Regions from separate parts of the Homo sapiens genome. Here all the other regions are linked to region 3. The links are contacts of gene promoters, found by promoter capture Hi-C in blood cells and fetal thymus (Javierre and others, 2016). All regions are on one chromosome and are shown on one strand. The core of a region is centred on a gene start or on the middle of the fragment in contact, and the rest is flanking DNA. Distances in the headings are between cores, read along the strand shown. Region 1 overlaps NPAT (nuclear protein, coactivator of histone transcription). Region 2 overlaps CUL5 (cullin 5). Region 3 holds the start of POGLUT3 (protein O-glucosyltransferase 3). Region 4 overlaps NPAT (nuclear protein, coactivator of histone transcription). Region 5 overlaps NPAT (nuclear protein, coactivator of histone transcription).

The links. The method cuts DNA at HindIII sites, captures the fragments that hold promoters and counts their contacts. A CHiCAGO score of 5 or more calls a contact.
Region 1: a fragment that was not itself captured here is called in contact with the fragment with the promoter of POGLUT3 in region 3 in 2 of 17 cell types (naive CD4 T cells and non-activated CD4 T cells); the score reaches 5.5 in naive CD4 T cells.
Region 2: a fragment that was not itself captured here is called in contact with the fragment with the promoter of POGLUT3 in region 3 in 5 of 17 cell types (total CD4 T cells, naive CD8 T cells, non-activated CD4 T cells and 2 more); the score reaches 10.9 in total CD4 T cells.
Region 4: a contact is called between a fragment that was not itself captured here and the fragment with the promoter of POGLUT3 in region 3, in 3 of 17 cell types (total CD4 T cells, naive CD4 T cells and naive CD8 T cells). The highest score is 7.2, in total CD4 T cells.
Region 5: a fragment that was not itself captured here is called in contact with the fragment with the promoter of POGLUT3 in region 3 in 3 of 17 cell types (total CD4 T cells, total CD8 T cells and naive CD4 T cells); the score reaches 7.2 in total CD4 T cells.

The regions. Positions count from the first base shown.
Region 1 is chr11:108,185,490-108,188,819 of GRCh38, forward strand. It overlaps NPAT (nuclear protein, coactivator of histone transcription), which reads right to left. Exons shown (of 18, transcript NM_002519.3): 7 at 2,609-2,690; 8 at 993-1,080; 9 at 1-5. Among named protein-coding and RNA genes, the nearest start is that of NPAT, 35 kb to the right of the region's middle. The HindIII fragment of the contact is 1,582 bases long and covers 1,098-2,679 here.
Region 2 is chr11:108,069,681-108,073,136 of GRCh38, forward strand. It overlaps CUL5 (cullin 5), which reads left to right. Exons shown (of 19, transcript NM_003478.6): 8 at 416-509; 9 at 2,652-2,782. Among named protein-coding and RNA genes, the nearest start is that of ACAT1, 50 kb to the right of the region's middle. The HindIII fragment of the contact is 4,040 bases long and covers 1-3,456 here.
Region 3 is chr11:108,496,841-108,500,068 of GRCh38, forward strand. It overlaps POGLUT3 (protein O-glucosyltransferase 3), which reads right to left and starts at 1,544. Exons shown (of 8, transcript NM_153705.5): 1 at 1,325-1,544. The coding sequence starts at 1,526. It overlaps LOC112267909 (a long non-coding RNA gene), which reads left to right and starts at 2,221. Exons shown (of 3, transcript XR_007062880.1): 1 at 2,221-2,810. RefSeq lists a silencer at 1,177-1,696. The HindIII fragment of the contact is 8,220 bases long and covers 1-3,228 here.
Region 4 is chr11:108,211,668-108,214,945 of GRCh38, forward strand. All of the region lies in intron 1 of NPAT (nuclear protein, coactivator of histone transcription), which reads right to left. Among named protein-coding and RNA genes, the nearest start is that of NPAT, 9.3 kb to the right of the region's middle. The HindIII fragment of the contact is 5,376 bases long and covers 1-3,278 here.
Region 5 is chr11:108,168,929-108,172,083 of GRCh38, forward strand. It overlaps NPAT (nuclear protein, coactivator of histone transcription), which reads right to left. Exons shown (of 18, transcript NM_002519.3): 14 at 1,000-1,115; 15 at 816-924. Among named protein-coding and RNA genes, the nearest start is that of ACAT1, 49 kb to the left of the region's middle. The HindIII fragment of the contact is 921 bases long and covers 955-1,875 here.

The DNA of each region.
Region 1 (3,330 bases), core at 639-3,138, 310 kb before region 3:
ATTTGCTGGAAAAGAAAGCCACTGTTAGCAAAAGGACAATAAAGAGTATTCTGCTATTTAATATTTATAAGAAAAGAACAAACCGATAAGAGCTGGATAGTTTTAATAAACCTAAATGGAAACTCAGAAGTTGTGATGGCTCCCTCCATATTAATACCTGAATACAACACTTCATAATTTGCAAATGTTTTCACAGATCTTTCACCAACTCTTTCTTATACAGTTCCACACTCATCATCAAACCCCAGTAAATGCCCTATTTTTACAGTGTCGCTCTATAGCCCAGCCTGGAGTACAGTGGCACAATCTCAGTTCACTGCAACCTCCACCTCGCAGTTCAAGCAATTCTTGTGCCTTAGCCTCCTGAATAGTAGCTGGGATTACGGGCGTGTGCCATCACACCCAGCTAATTTTTGTATTTTTAGTAGAGACAGTTGTCCAGGCTGGTCTTGAATTCCTGGCCTCAAGAGATCCGCTGGCTTTGGCCTCTCAAAGTGCTGGGATTACAGGTACAAGCCACTACTCGCCGGCCAGTTTTTTTTTTTGAGACAGGGTCTGACTCTGTCACCCAGGCTTGAGTGTAGTGGTATGATCATGGCTCACTGCAGCCTTGACCTCCCAGGCTCAAGCAGTCCTCCCATCTCAGCCTCCCAAGCAGCTAGGACTACAGGCACGTGCTACCACACCTAGCTAATATTTGTATTTTTTGTAGAGAGGGGGTTTTACCATGTTGCCCAGGTTGGTCTTGAATTCCTGAGCTCAAGCAATCTGCCCACCTCAGCTTCCCAAAGTGCTGGGATTACAGGTGTTTGCCATAGCACCTGGCCAGTATTTTATTAAATGATCCAACAACAACAATGTATTTACAGATATCTATAAACTTACTCCTGTTTCTTTATTTGATACATACACACATACATACATTTGTGTATATATCTGTATTTTTAAACTCAGGAATATTTTAAGTTGCAAAGTTTGGCAGAGTCACTTACTTTTTCTACTGCAAAAGCGTTTGGATCTTGGAAATTCCGTATTGTTGAATGAGGGCCAGACAAAGTGGTACTTTTTCTCTGAGATTCACTGAAACACATTTTAAAAGCTTTTCTTTTAACCACTATATTTAACAGATTTAAAGATAAATACATATACAGACATAAATTTTAAGATCACCATAACAGAACAGATACAGTTGTCCCTGTATCTGCAGGGGGCTGGTTTCAGGACCCCCAAGGATATCAAAATCCACATGTACTCAAGTCCTACAGTCTGCACTAGGAAGCCCATGTATTCAAAAAGTCAGCACACTGCATATAGGCAGGTTTTACTACTAAATTTTTAATCTGTGTTCGGTTGAAAAAAACTTGAGTATAAATGAACCCATGCAGTTGAAACCCATGTTATTCAAGGTCAACTATATTTTCTCTATTTGTGTTAGGAACAAAGGGAAGTACAAAAAGTATTAGTAGTCTTGAATTCAAAAAAATGAGTTTGAAGTCTAGCTTTACCACTTACTACCTATGGTCTGAAGCACAGCAAGCTCTGACTCTCTAACCTACTTTATAATGACCAACTGCATTATTGGGTTTACTAAAGAATGGAATGAAATAAAGTATATATAAAGACTTTATTTAAAAAGTCAGGGTTCCTATAAATGTTAAATATTAATGTTGCTCTTTTATGGCTGGGCATGGTGGCTCACATCTGTAATCCCAGCAATTTTGGAGGCCAAGGTGGGAAGATCACTTGAAGCCAGGAGTTTCAGACCAGCCTGGGCAACAAAGTGAGACCCCCATCTCTACAAAAAATAAAAAAATTAGCTGGGTGTGGCGGCATGTGCCTGTGCTGCTGGCTACTGGGGAGGCTAAGGTGGGAGGATCTTCTGAGCCCACAAGTTCGAGGCTGCAGTGAGTTATGATTGTACCACTATACTCTAACCTGGTCAAGACAGCAAGGCCCTATCTCTAAAAATAAAAAAATGGATATTGCTGTTTGTTATTTTATATGGTGAAGTGAGAAAGGCTCCAATAAAGGAGGCTAACTAAGGTCAGTCTTGAATGAAAGACAACCAAAAGTAAAAACTCTAACAAAAATACCCAGGGCTTGGGAGCTAAGAAACTAGAATAAACATTTTAAAACTATTATCTCTTTCAAAAAATATCCTTCAAACAAAGACACACTTTTCTCAAAAGTGTTTTGGGAAAAACACTTTTCTCAAAGATTGTGCCTGGAAAAATTCCATCAATTGATCTTAGGACTTTAAATGTGTGTGGAGCATAGAACATAACTGTATTATTTACATTCAGTTAAAAAACATGGATTGCAAAAAATCTCAGATAACATCATTTGTAAGATATACCATTATTTTATATACCATTACAGAATAAACATATTTCCCATGAAACAGTGATATGCCATTAATTGAGAGATGCAACCCAATTTCAGGCAGGTTAAAATGTGAAGAAAGACAATGTATTTTGGAATAGTTCTAATATAGATCAGAACATAATCTGGTCCTATTAGTTTATTCACAATGTAAGTATCCTGATGTAATTCTTTTTTTTTTTTTTTAATGGATACGGGTAACTTGTCTCTTTTAAAAAGCATTTACCTTTTGCGTCTACCGGGAGACATTAAACTGGCATGTGCTTTCTTTTCCTGAGCACCAGGAATGACATTTAAAGCTTCTCCAGCTGTATTTCAAGAAAACATAACAGTAAGCCAAAGAAACTGAATAGTTTTCTAAACTTGTAATGGGATAAAAAGCATTAGTGATTATTATTTTATATTAAATTCAATTAACATGTACTGAGTGCCTACCATGTGTAAAGCATGGTAAAAGACACTAAGATTAATAAAATACAGTCTTTATGCCTTAAGGTTTTACAATAAAATCCAAAGTACAATATAGTCTCAACAAAAAATAATACAGTAGAATGGAAAAAGTCTAAGAAGTATAAACTAAGCATTCTGGGTGTAGAAAAGGATTTGGAAAAGGTGAAAATGAGGGAGATCTTGATGGCAACAAATTTTAGCTGCACAGAAAGATAATTGGTTTGTGAACTGAGAGTGCTAACTCCTGAATTCTAATCCCAACTCTGTTATTAACTAGCTTCTTATCCCTTAACTACCATGTGTTTTCAGAAGTTTCAAGTATGCAACAAATAAGATATACCACACACTCTCTAAGGATATTCCTAACTCTAAGGTTCAGCCAGGCATATGTAGGATTTCTAACATGTAAAGATAGAGAAGTAGAAAGGCATTCCTCATTCCAGGAGGACAGACTGACATCAACAAAGGCAAGGAAGTAGAAAATATAATGTACATTCC
Region 2 (3,456 bases), core at 505-3,004, 430 kb before region 3:
CTTGTCTCTTAAATACTTCCTTAGTGCCTGCACGTAGTAGGCATCCAATAATGGTTTGTTGAATGAATGTATTCACACTTCTAGAATTTTATAACCTAATTTTAAAACAGGTTCTCTCCAGACAGGAAGAGTTAATCAAAGTTTGGTTTTGTATATTTTTCTCTCCCCTCCTTGAGGACTTTTGTTAAAATTTCTAAAGAGAGTCTAGTTCTATAGTTTTTTTCCTTAGGGGAAAATACACTTTGGTAAACTAGTATAGCATATCCATCTTCAATAATCCTATAGTTAAGGTAAGTGAAATCTACTTTCAGTATAATTTTTTTTTTGTTGAACAATATTGTTTTATTTTGTGAGTTAGAATAGATTTGTGCTATACAGCTTATAGTAGCCTTGACTAATTTTTGATATATTTCAGCTCATGGAATGCTGTGTAAATGCCCTGGTGACATCATTTAAAGAGACTATCTTAGCTGAGTGCCAAGGCATGATCAAGAGAAATGAAACTGAAAGTAGGTAAAACATCACATAAAGTTATCATAATCTTCTAAGAGGGTATCTTTGAAACAAATCACTTACTAAGTTGCTCTTAGTTAATTCTTTTCCACATAGGTATATGTGGAACTGTTAGAGTGAACTATACTTAAGGAAATAGATAAAATATTTAACACAGAGGCACTGCTAAGAGTATATAAACTTAAATTTTAAGCATTTTCCCTCTTAGCTATCAACATCTGTGTATGTGTATGGTGAATTTCTACTTTTTTCTCAAAAGCAAGACACTGCTTTTAAAGGCCAGTTTAAACTGGAAACATATGTTATAGATTAGAACCAGGTATTTGACTTTTGTGTGGAACCTTGTGATGAATCTTTTTAGAATGTAATAAAACACTCCCTGTTAATAGTCATCTCTGTCCCCCAAAATACTTTATAAGATTTCTAAAGGATTTTTTTATTACTTCAATGTTTTCTTAAAAAGATGTGTTTTGAGAGGTAGCAAGTATATAACAAACTAAAAAAAAAAATTGTACATATACCTACTACCCCAGTAAAACTGCTTTTAACATTTTTTTGCTTTTGTTTTTTAAATAACGTACTTCTACTGAGTTTCCAGGTTTTATTATATCTAACTGCAAGGTCCTGTTTAATCTCTAGTTGCATTTAAAGTGCATATTTCAATTCACTTAAGTTCATACACTTTTTAGGAGTAATTCAGTAGTAAAAAGCAAGCTGCTTTATTGGCGTAAACAAAATACTTGTATTCTGTGTGCCAGTCTAATTAGAGTTATGTCTGATCTATGTTGCACTCTTTTCAAAAGGATTTATTTAGTGGTAATCAGTACCGTGAGGTAGGGTTTTTGTGAAGGTCAATAAAATGGCATAACATGAAAAAGTGCTTTGTAAATTGAAAAATTATTTATGAATACAGTTTTATATTCTAATCTCTAATATAGTTGCTTTCGTAATTATTACTCATGTTTTTTACCTTTTGATGATATGGCTGTATATGTAGTATTACAACTACCTTATGAAATAAACTAATCTTGTGTGTAAATAAATATTCCTTTGCACTGAAAACCAAATGACTCACCTTTTCTTTTGAGACTGGGTCTCGCTGTGTTGCCCAACCTGGAATTCGATGGCACGATCACAATTCACTGTAGCCTTGACCTCCTGGGCTCAAGCGATCCTCCCACCTCCCAGCCCACTGAGTAGCTGGGACTACAGCCGTGTACCACCATGCCTGGCTAATTTTTGTATTTTTTGTAGAGGCAGAGCCCCACCTTGTTGCCCAGGCTGATCTCCACTGCTTCTGGCCAAATGACTGACCTTTTAAAGAAAGGAGTTGGGTTTTGCAGTATTTGATCACTTTTTTTATTTTTATTTTTTGAGACCGTCTTGCCCTGTCACCCAGGCTGAGTGCAATGGTGCAATCACGGCTCACTGCAGCCTCAGCCTCCTGGGCTTAGGCATTCCTCACACTTCAGCCTCCCAAGTATCTGGGACCAAAGACATGCACCACCACACCCAGCTAATTTTGTTTGTTTGTTTTTGTGTAACGATGGGTTTTGCCATGTTGCCCTGACTGGTCTTTTTAACTCCTGGGCTCAAATGATCCTCCCACCTTGGCCTCCCAAAGTGCTGGAGTTACAAGCGTGAACCACCACACCCAGCCTGATCACTTTTAATTCGATTTTTTTTTAAACATAATTTTTAGACTAAGTACAGTGGCTCATACCTATGATCCCAGCACTTTGAGAGACCAAGGCGAGAGGATTGTGTGAGCCCCGAAGTTTGAGACCAGCTTGGGCAACATTGGGAGACCCTGTCTCTACAAAATTACAAAAAACATTAGCCAGGCATGGTGACATGTGCCTGTGGTCCCAGCTACTCAGGAGGCTGAGATGGGAGGATTGCTTGCGCCCAAGAGGTCAAGGCTGCAGTGAGCCGTGATCGAGCCACTGTACTCCAGCTTGGGTGACAGACTGGGACCCTGTCTCAAAAACAAAAAAACAACAACAAAAAAACGAACAACTACTCCTAATGGCATTGTATCCACAGAATACTATTAACATTACAAACTTAACTAATGTTTCTCTAAACTCTTACTCTAGTAAATGAAATGATTACATGAATGTGTTCTCTCCTTCCAGAATTACATTTAATGTTTTCATTGATGGACAAAGTTCCTAATGGTATAGAGCCAATGTTGAAAGACTTGGAGGAACATATCATTAGTGCTGGCCTGGCAGATATGGTAGCAGCTGCTGAAACTATTACTACTGTAAGTTTTTTTTCAATGGCAATGATAGATATATATCAAGGCTATTTTTTAAATGTAGGATTATTGAAAATAGTGAGCGGTTACCAGAGGCTGGGGGTTGGGGGAGCAGAAGAGGTTGGTTAGTGGGGTATAAAGTTATAGTTCAATAGGAAGAATAAGTTTTGGTGTTCTATTACCCATTAGGGCGGATATAGCAAGTAACAATGTAGTGTATATTTCAAGATAGAAGAGATTTTTTATGTTGTTACCACAAAGAAATTATAAATGTTTGAAGTGATGGATATAGTAGTTACCCCAATTTGATCATTATAGTATATACATGCATTGAAATATAACATTGTACCCCATAATATGTACCATTATGTGTTGATTACAAATAAAAACATTAAATTTTTAAAAATACAGAATTGAAAATTGAAAATAGTAATTGAAATTACTATTTTCTCTGTAAAACAGGGAGCTGGGCAAGGTGGCTCACGCCTGTAATCCCAGCACTTTGGGAGGCCGAGGTGGGCAGATCACAAGGTCAGGAGATCGAGACTATCCTGGCTAACATGGTGAAACCCCTCTCTACTAAAAATACAAAAAAAATAGCCAGGCGGGGTGGCGGGCGCCTATAGTCCCAGCTACTTGGGAGGGTGAGGCAGGAGAATGGCGTGAACCCAGGAAGTGGA
Region 3 (3,228 bases), core at 294-2,793:
AGACCAGAGGCTACAATCAACCAGGCTTTTCCGCTCAGTATCATTAAATTACAGTACTTATTTTCCCGAACACCACGGTCTCCTACGCCTCTGTGCTTCTGCACATGCCATGGCGTCCTTCTATATGCCTGCCCAGCAAACCTTCTCATCCTTCAAGTCTCTGCTCCTGAAATCTTCCTGGATTTCTCCAGTCTCTGGCAGTGCTTCAATGTTGCCACTGCACTCTGTACATACCTTCAATTATCTTGTACAGTGATCAGTTATTTGCATGTCTTTGACCAACAGACTGTAAGTTCCTTGATGGTCAGGCATTGTCTTTTCATCCTTAGATTCCCAGCAGAATTACCAAACACAGAAGTAGACATCAAAGAAGTATTTCTTGAATGAATGAAATTTTAAAAATCATTAAATCTAAAAGTGAATTATGTTTGGTTCCTAAATTCTCTGCTTTGCCCAGCTGTCAAGACCCCCTTACCCCTTTCCCAAGTTGGGACACACTTCTGGCAGCTATGTTCCCAGCTGGACTAGCAGGGGCAGAGGCACTGGTTTATTCTAATTGTCTCTTCGCTGATACAACAAGGTGCTAGTTGGCCAGAGCCCCAAATTATACATTAGCAAATCCTGACTGACAACAGCGTGAAACCAGCAGGACAAGTTTTAAGAAGTTGCAAAGGTTAAGACGTGAAGGACAACGTGGGAGGAGGACCGGGCAGAAAGGGATTCAGGACGAGATCCATCTCACCCTCCGTGGAGGGAAAACCGAATGATTTCTACTGAGTTTCCCTAGTTCCTGTAATCTGCTTTCAAAAACTCAGAACTAAAAAGGAAACAAAAAACTAACACGTAAACCCCTCCTCCTTCCTACGGCTCTGACATTTCCTCTGCGTAGGATTTCGTTGCTCCAAACCCACCAGGCCTAAGCCATGTAATCCGACGCGATCCGTCGGCTTGATGACTCACCACTGGAAAGCGCTCCCTGCAATCCCTCACAGTTCAGACAACTAAGTCCGAGATGGAAGGCAACGTGTGACTCACGGCACACTCCTTGTAACGCCCGGGCGCCGTCCATTCGCAACATCAGTCCCTGCACATTAAATGCGGAAGGGCCCTTCAAGTTCATTCATTCATTCATTCCACAAACTTTCGTGGTGATTTTTGCCCGCTTTGAGTATGGGCGGGAGGAGGGAAGAGGAGCTGACCAGACCCAAAAAGGGGCGACACACGCCGGGGAGGGACGCCACGCAGGCCGCGGGCGGACTCCCGGGCGGCGGGGACGCGCGGGGACCCGGCCGCGGGACGAGGGAGGCCGGCGGCTGGACACTACCTGCGGGAGAGCGAGTGAGGTTCTGGCCCTCCGAGTTGACCGCCTGCAGGTAGAAATAGCGGACCGGCAGGACGACGGCCGCCTGCAGCCCGGGCCCCCACACCAGGCTCCGCGGCGCGCTGACCAGCACCTCCGGGGCCCCCGCGGCCACCAGCAGGGCGAGGCGCAGCTGCAGCAGCAGGGCCCGCGGGAGGCGGCGCATGGTCGGCGGGGCACAACTGCGGTCCAGCTCCGCGGCGGCGAGGAGGGGCCGGCAGCGCCGCGGACCGGGCGGGGACTGGGGCCCACCGCGGGGCGGGTCTTTCGGGCGGGAAAGATTGCGGCGCAGGCTCCCTTTCCCGCCCGCTGTCCCGCCTCGTCTCCCTCGGGCGGGAACGCGAGCCAGTGCCGCAATCACCCACTGCGCGCCCTGTAGGGGTCGACGATGGGTGCGCCCCTTCCTCCCCGCAGCCCCATAGGCCCCGTGGAGGAAAGGGGTGGAGAGGCCCGCCCAGAGACCGAGGCTGCGAGTGTGCGCTGGCTGTTGATTGCCAAGGCTTCAGGCACGCCTGGCCTCCACTTCCAGTGGTCTTTCCCTTTCTTTTTCTTCCTTCCTTTCCTTCTTTCTTCTCTTTTCTTTCTCTGTTTTTATACAGACAAGGGGGCTGGCTCTGTCGCCTAGGCTGGAGTGCAATGGCGCGACCACAGCTCACTGCAGCCTGGAACTCGTGGGCTCAGGAGATCCTCCCGCCTCAGCCTCCCGAGTAGCTGGGACTGACTGTAGGCACACGACACCACGCTGGCTAATTTAATTTATTATTATTATTATTATTATTATTATTATTATTATTATTACTATTACTATTTGTAGAGACGGGGTCTCCCTATGTTGCCCAAGGTGGTCTTGAACTCCTGGTTTCAAGCAATCCGCCCGCCTCGGCTTCCCAAAGTGCCGGGATTACAGGCATGAGCCACCGGGTCCGCCGCTCAGGTGTTTTTAAAGGACGTAGACCCGGTGGTGATTGTTGTGGGACGATGAAAGGGTCCGGCCCCAAGATCGATGTAGTTTAGGGAAATATCTTTTCCCAAGGAATGTCTCCGAGTTTACAAGATGAGCGCCAAGGTCACGCCCCCCGCCCTCCCTCACAGCCCTCTGTTCACAGCAGCACCGTTCTCTTGTGGCCGGTTTTGTTGCTTTTCTGCTTAGCAGCCTCCCTCACAGAACCGTGATCCCCCCACCCCACACATCCCTTTCCCCGCTTCCTCCCGCACTCCTCTTCTTCCAGCAGGTGTTTACAGAACATCCACGGAGTTTGGGCCAAGCCCAGAGTGAGGAGCTGGGCACTGGGGTGGCAGAAGACCAGGCCTTGCCTTGAGCCCTTGTGCGAGCTTTACCTCAAAGCCTCTGTAATCGAAGTGGGAGAAGGGGTGGTGGTGCGTGGTTGGTCTCAGCCACCTCCACCACTCCTCAGAAGATGAACGCTGGATCCAGGAAGAGATTGTCAAGGTTACTATCTGCCTCTCTTTTTTGATCATTTTATCCAATTTGTTAATGGATACAAATTTGTTAATGGATTGTTAATAGATCTGAATTTATTTAAAGCCAATAAAGATTCTCCTCTGGCTGAATGATCCAGAAGGAACTCACACCCCAGAATGGACACAGGATTTCTGCACCCTCTTGGGGGAACTTAATGCCCAAAACATCAGAGCCAGGCACTGGACAAGCCTTTGTCCGCCTCACGGCTTTAACCGTGCTACTCAGCATTCTTGCTGTGACCAAGTTTTACCAGGGCAAAATCTTTCCCACATTTTCACACTTCTCTTGACCTATTTTAGTAATGCTAAGCAGTGGTTATGGACAGTATTCTTTGTACTTTGGAAAGGTTTCAGGAACTGGTAGTCAGTTGCCGGTAAATTTTAGG
Region 4 (3,278 bases), core at 263-2,762, 290 kb before region 3:
AATAAATCAGTGTAATATACTATATCCCTAACGTAAAAGACGAAAGTCACATTATCATGGAAAAAGAACTGAACAAAATCCAACCAATCTGGGCAATATAGTGAGACCCCCATCTCTGCAAAAAATTAAAAATTTAGCTGGGTATGGTGGCATGTGCCTATAGTTCCAGTTACTTGGGAGGGTGAGGTAGAAGGATAGTTTTAGTCTGGGAGGCTGAGGCTGCAGTGGGCCATAATCATGCCACTGCAGTCCAGCCTGGATGACAGAGTAAGAACCTGTTTCAAAAGCAAAACAAAACAAAACAAAACTCTACCAAAGAAACCAAAAAAAACAAAATCCAACACCCTTTCATGATAAAAACACTAGAAATAAAAAGAAATTTCCTCAACCTCATAGAGTTATCTATTAAAAAAAAAAAAAGCCAAGTAACATCATCTTCAATGGTTTAAAATTCAAACCTTTCCCCATAAGATCAGGGAAAAGGTAAGAAGGTCTGTTCTTGTCATTTCTATTCAACATTGCATGTATCCTCTAGCCAGGGCAATTAGGAAAAAACTTGAAATAAAAAGCATCCAGGCCGGGTGCAGTGGCTCACACCTGTAATCCCAGCACTTTGGGAGGCCGAGCTGGGCGGATCATTTGAGGTCAGGAGTTCCAGACCAGCCTGCTCAACATGGTGAAACCCCGTCTCTACTAAAAATACAAAAATTAGCCAGGTGTGGTGGTGCATGCCTGTAATGCCAACTACTCAGGAGGCAGAGGCAGGAGAATTGCTTGAATCCGGGAGGTGGAGGTTGCAGTGAGCTGAGATAGGGCCACTGCACTCTAGCCTGGGCAACAGAGAGAGACTCCGTCTCAAAAGAAAAAAAAAAAAAGCATCCAGATTGGAAAGGAAAAAATCAAGATTACCCCTATTTGCAGATGACATGTCTTATATAGAAAATCCTAAGGAAGCCATAAAAAACAACAACAACAACAACAAAAAAACTATTAGAGGCCAGGCACCACGGCTCATACCTATAATCCCAGCACTCTGGGAGGCCAAGGCAGGCAGATTGCCTGAGGTCAGGAGTTCGAGACCAGTCTGGCCAACATGGTGAAACCCCGTCTCTACTAAAAATACAAAAAAATGAGCCAGGCATGGTGGTGTCCACCTTAATCCCAGCTGCTAGGGAGGCTGAGGCAGGGGAATCACTTGAACCAGGGAGGTGGAGGTTGCAATGAGCCGAGATGGTGCCATTGCACTCCAGCCTGGGCAACAGAGCAAGACTCTGTCTCAAAAAAAAAAAAAAAAAAAAAAAAAAAGGAGTTAAGAAACCTCCCTGGGCGGGGCATGGTGGCTCATGCCTATAATCCAGCACTTTGGGAGGCCAAGGCCAGCAAATCACCTGAGGTCGGGAGTTCGAGACCAGCCTGACCAACATGGAGAAACCCTGGTGCTACTAAAAATACAAAGTTAGCTGGGCAAGGTGATGCATGCCTGTAATCCCAGCTATTCCAGAGGCTGAGGCAGGAGAATCGCTTGAACCCGGGAGGCAGAGGTTGTGGTGAGCCAAGATTGCGCCATTGCACTCCAGCCTGGGCAACAAGAGCGAAACTCTGTCCCAAAAACAAAACGAAACAAAACAAAAACTATTAGAGCTAATAAATGACTTCGACAAGGTTGCAGGATACACAGTGAATATATAAAAGTCAATAAATCTCAATGAACTACCAAAAATTAAGAATGCAATGCTAGTTACAATAGCATCAAAAGAAATAAAATACTTAGGAATAAGTTTAACAAAAGTAAAGGACTTGCATACTAAAAACTGGAAAACGTCACTGGAGGAAATTAAAGACCTAAATCCACGCAAAGACATACTGTGTTCATGGACTGAAAGGTTCAATATTGTTAAAAACTCAATACTCCCAAAATTCACCGATACATTCAACACAATTCCTATCATAATCTCAACTGCCTTTTGTGCAGAAATTGACAAACATCCTAAAACTCCTAAGGTAATACAAGGGGGCTGGAATAGCCAAAATAATCTTGAAAATGAAGAAAAAGTTGAAGCACTTACACTTACCAATTTCAAAACTTACTGTAAAGCTACAGTAATCCAGACGATGTACGGGCATGAGGTTAGACACAGAAATTAGTGGAACAAAATAAAAAATCCAGACCTTTCTTATTTATCTAGTCAACTCTGAAGCATGGAATCCAGACATTTATGGTCAGTTTATTTTTTTTCAGAGACAGAGTCTTGCTCTGTCACCCAGGCTGAAGTAGAGTGGCTCAATCATAGCTCACTATAACCTTGAACTCCTGGGCTGAAGTGATCCTCCCACTTCAGCCAACCCAGTAGCTAGGACTAGAGGCATGTACCACCAAATAAATGCCCAGCTAATTACTTACTTATTGGTACAGATGGGGTGTCTCAGTATGCTGCCCAGGCTGGTCTCGCTCCCCTGGCTTCAAGCAATCCTCCTGCCTTGGCCTCCCAAAGTGTTGGGATTACAGGGTGAGCCATTACAGCTGGCCTGCATTTTTCATAACAGTGTCCATTAATGAATGGACAAACAAAATATGGCATATTCATATAATGAAATATTCAGCTATAAAAAGGAATGAAGTACTAATACCTGCTACAACATGGAATAAGGCTGAAAACATTATGCTATGTGAAAGTCAGACACAAAAAGCGAAATATTCTATTTCATTTATGTGCAATGTCCAGGCAAGGCACATGTATAGATACAGAAAGTAGATTTGTGGTTGGCAGAGGACGGGGCAAGGGGGAATTGGAAGTGACTTAATAGTATAAGGATTCTCTTTGGAGTGATGGAAATATTGAAATTACTGGTGATATCTGCACATTATGAATCCATAAATATCCTGGATTTTCATACCCTGAAAAACAACGAAGTTTACATTTTGTAGTATGTGCATCATATCTCAATAAAAAAATATGATTCCAATTTTTTTTTTTTTTTTTTGAGATGGAGTCCCGCTCTTGTCACCTGTGCTGGAGTGCAATGATGCAATCTCGGCTCACTGCAACCTCTGCCTCCCAGGTTCAAGCGATTCTCCTGCCTCAGCCTCCCAAGTAGCTGGGATTACAGACGCCTGCCACCATGCCTGGCTAATTTTTATATTTTTAGTAGAGATGGGGTTTTGCCATGTTGGCCAGGCTGGTCTGGAACTCCTGACCTCAGGTGATTTGCCCGCCTCGGCCTCCCAAAGTGCTGGGATTACACGCGTGAGCCACTGCACCCGGCCTATGATTTCAAAT
Region 5 (3,155 bases), core at 165-2,664, 330 kb before region 3:
CTGAGAAATTTCAATTTTATCCTTTGGGCAAAGGGGAGTTGCTGAAAGTTTTTAGGCAGGAAAGCAACATATTCAGATTTGTATTTTAGGGAAAAAAAGTCACTCAGCCAGCAGATATGAGGTGAACTGAAACAACAGAGACTAAAAGAAGGGAGACTACATGACACTATTGATACAACTTAGATGAAAAATGACAAATACTTGAACTAAGAAGGAGAGGAAAATGTGTTTTAAGAGTGACTACCAGGTTTTTCACAAGTAAACAGATGGTTGGGACAATGGCTAAAACAGGGAACACAGGAAGGTAATTTGCAAACTTTAAAGCCTTGCTTCAAGTGTGGTCCAGTACCAGCAGCACTGGCATTGCTTAGAAGCTGTTAGAAATGAGGAATTTCAGGTGCTGTACCAGACCTATCAATTCAGTACCTGCATTTAACAAAATCCCCAAATAGTTCATATACACACTAAACTACAAGAAGAACTGCTCTAAAGTCTCATACAATTATACGAGGCATTCATTAAACACTTGAAAGCTGTTGGGAAAAATAGGGACTATACTTAATTTAGGGAAGCTGCAAAGAACAAACCAAGGACTACTGGGCAAAAGCTAACAGATTCAACAAAGGAGACAATTTTCTCAGAACCAAAGCTGTTCAGTAACAGTTGGCTGCATTATGACATCTGTTACTAGCAAATGTAGGGTGATCACTTGTTTTAAAATGGTTTAGGTATTCAGAAAGAAAACATTTAGGTGTTGCTGCAAACAAATGAACATACAAACATAAAGTTAACATTAATGAAATTAAAAATGGTACCTATACAAGGCTTGTTTCTTAGTCCCTGAGCCTTCTGAGATTTTGGAGGGACGGGGAATTGAGGGATACTTCTATTGCATACAGGTGCTGTCAAAGGCATATGAAGAACCTGGAAGAGAAAAAGCCATTAATTACACTAAGCTTGAAAAGCATCACCACACCATTTTCAGTTCATAAATCTTACCTGCCGAGGAGGAGTAGAAAAGTTATTTCCATTCTGTCCAACCACAGATACTGGGATCATCCCTACCATTCCTTGGAGTACAGGCTGGACTGGAGAGGCAATTATTATGGCAGATCCTAAAAAAACAATTCTTGTTAAAAAAAGATTTTCTCTGAAATGTTTTGGCACAAAACAAACAAATGTTTGGCACAAATTAATTACTGCTTTGAAATAAATTCTATGAACAATCCCTCTTCCTTACGATCCACTCTCCAAAAACAAAACAAAACAAAACAAAAAAAACGAAACTGAAACAGTTTTAGGAAAAACAGCAAGGCTAACAAATTAAGAAAAAGTCAATCCAAATATTAAGGTGGTCTTAATGTTATTCAGTCAGTGAACCATGCTGATCAAGCATAAGACTCTACAGCCAAGACATCATATTACAATCATATCTGGATTCCTCTAGAAATAATGAAACTAGTTAGAAAATGAGTGGTGAATGTTTCAAGTCTGAACCTTACACCAGAAAATTACAACCCCAACTGAATATTTATACCCAGGACTACACTTGTAACCCCAACCTATTACATATCTCAATGGTATTGATCAAAAGGGGGTAAGGTAAGCACGTAACTGGTCAAAACTATGGAGGGAAAATTACAATGTCTACATGGTCCTCAGAAGTCAACAACATAGTTTGTGGCTACTGTAATTTAGTCCTGTCCATAAACAAACTTTTGCCTAATACACTACTGTCAGGTTGATCCCCTCATTTTCATGCAACCTACTACGGTCTCTCTGTCTATGCTGGTGCTGCTTCTCTTTATAACTTACAGATTTTATAAGTTATAAAAACTTCCTTGCTTTAACTCCAAATCCTACCTTCATTCTTTAAGCTTTAGCTCAAGCCCCACATTCTCTATTAATTCTGACCTCTCCTTTATGTAATTTGTAACAGCACGTAAAACAGACCCATTAGGTTTAATACTAATTGTTGATATTTAATGAAATTTTATTGTATGTCTATAATGTAACAAAAAGGGAAAAGAGGGAAGCTTGGGAACCAACACATAAGGAAATGTAAATAAATGTGCCATGAGCACTATCTCTGAGGAACATACAATAAAAAATTATCAATATGATAGGCATATCAATCACTAACTACATATAACACAGCACGCAATAAATGCCACAAGAGCCCCTATGAAAAAAGGATTTTTTTTTTTTTTTTTTTTTTTGGAGACAGAGTCTTACTCTGTCACCCAGGCTGAAGTGCAGTGGTGCGATCTTGGCTCACTGCAACCTCTGCCTCCCAGCTTTAGATTCTTCTGTCTCAGCCTCCCAAGCAGCTGGGATTACAGGTGCCCACCACCATGCCAATTTTTGTATTTTTAGTAGATACGGGGTTTCACCATGTTGGCCAGGCTGGTCTTGAACTCCTGACCTCGGGTGATCTGCCCGCCTCGGCCTCCCAAAGTGCTGGGATTACAGTCATGAGCCACTGAGCCCAGCCATAAACAAAGGATTTTAAAGACAGAGATCAATTAGAAAGGATTTTATAAAGGAAGAAATTCAAGTTTTTTTTTTTTTTTGAGACAGAGTCTCGCTCTTGTTGCCCAGGCTGAAGTGCAATGGCATGATCTTGGCTCACTGAAACCTCTGTCTCCTGGGTTCACGAGATTCTCCTGCCTCAGCCTCCCAAGTAGCTGTAATTACAGGCACCTGCCACCATGCCTGGCTCATTTTTTTGTATTTTTAGTAGAAATGAGGTTTCACCATGTTCTCGAGGCTGGTCTCAAACTCCTGACCTCAGGTGATCGATCGGCCCACCTCGGCCTCCCAAAGTGCTGGGATTACAGGCGTGAGCCACCATAACCGGCTGAAATTCAAGTTTTTCTTGAAAATTTCTCCAAAAAGATGATGAATTCCCTGAAGACCATGACTATAAGAGCTATTTTTAAAAACTCCCCCACAACATTGGGTTTTATACAACTATGTGATGAATTAGTCTGTCTTTTCTGTTTATTGTAACTTACTAGCACATAGATTGAGAAGTATTTGTGAAAAGAAAAAAGAAAAACCACTAAAGCCCATAGCTTACTAGCAGATTAAGAAAAATAAAAAAGGTTTGAATTAGCTAGCATAAAGAAGCAGCGTAATCACAAATTTCAGAA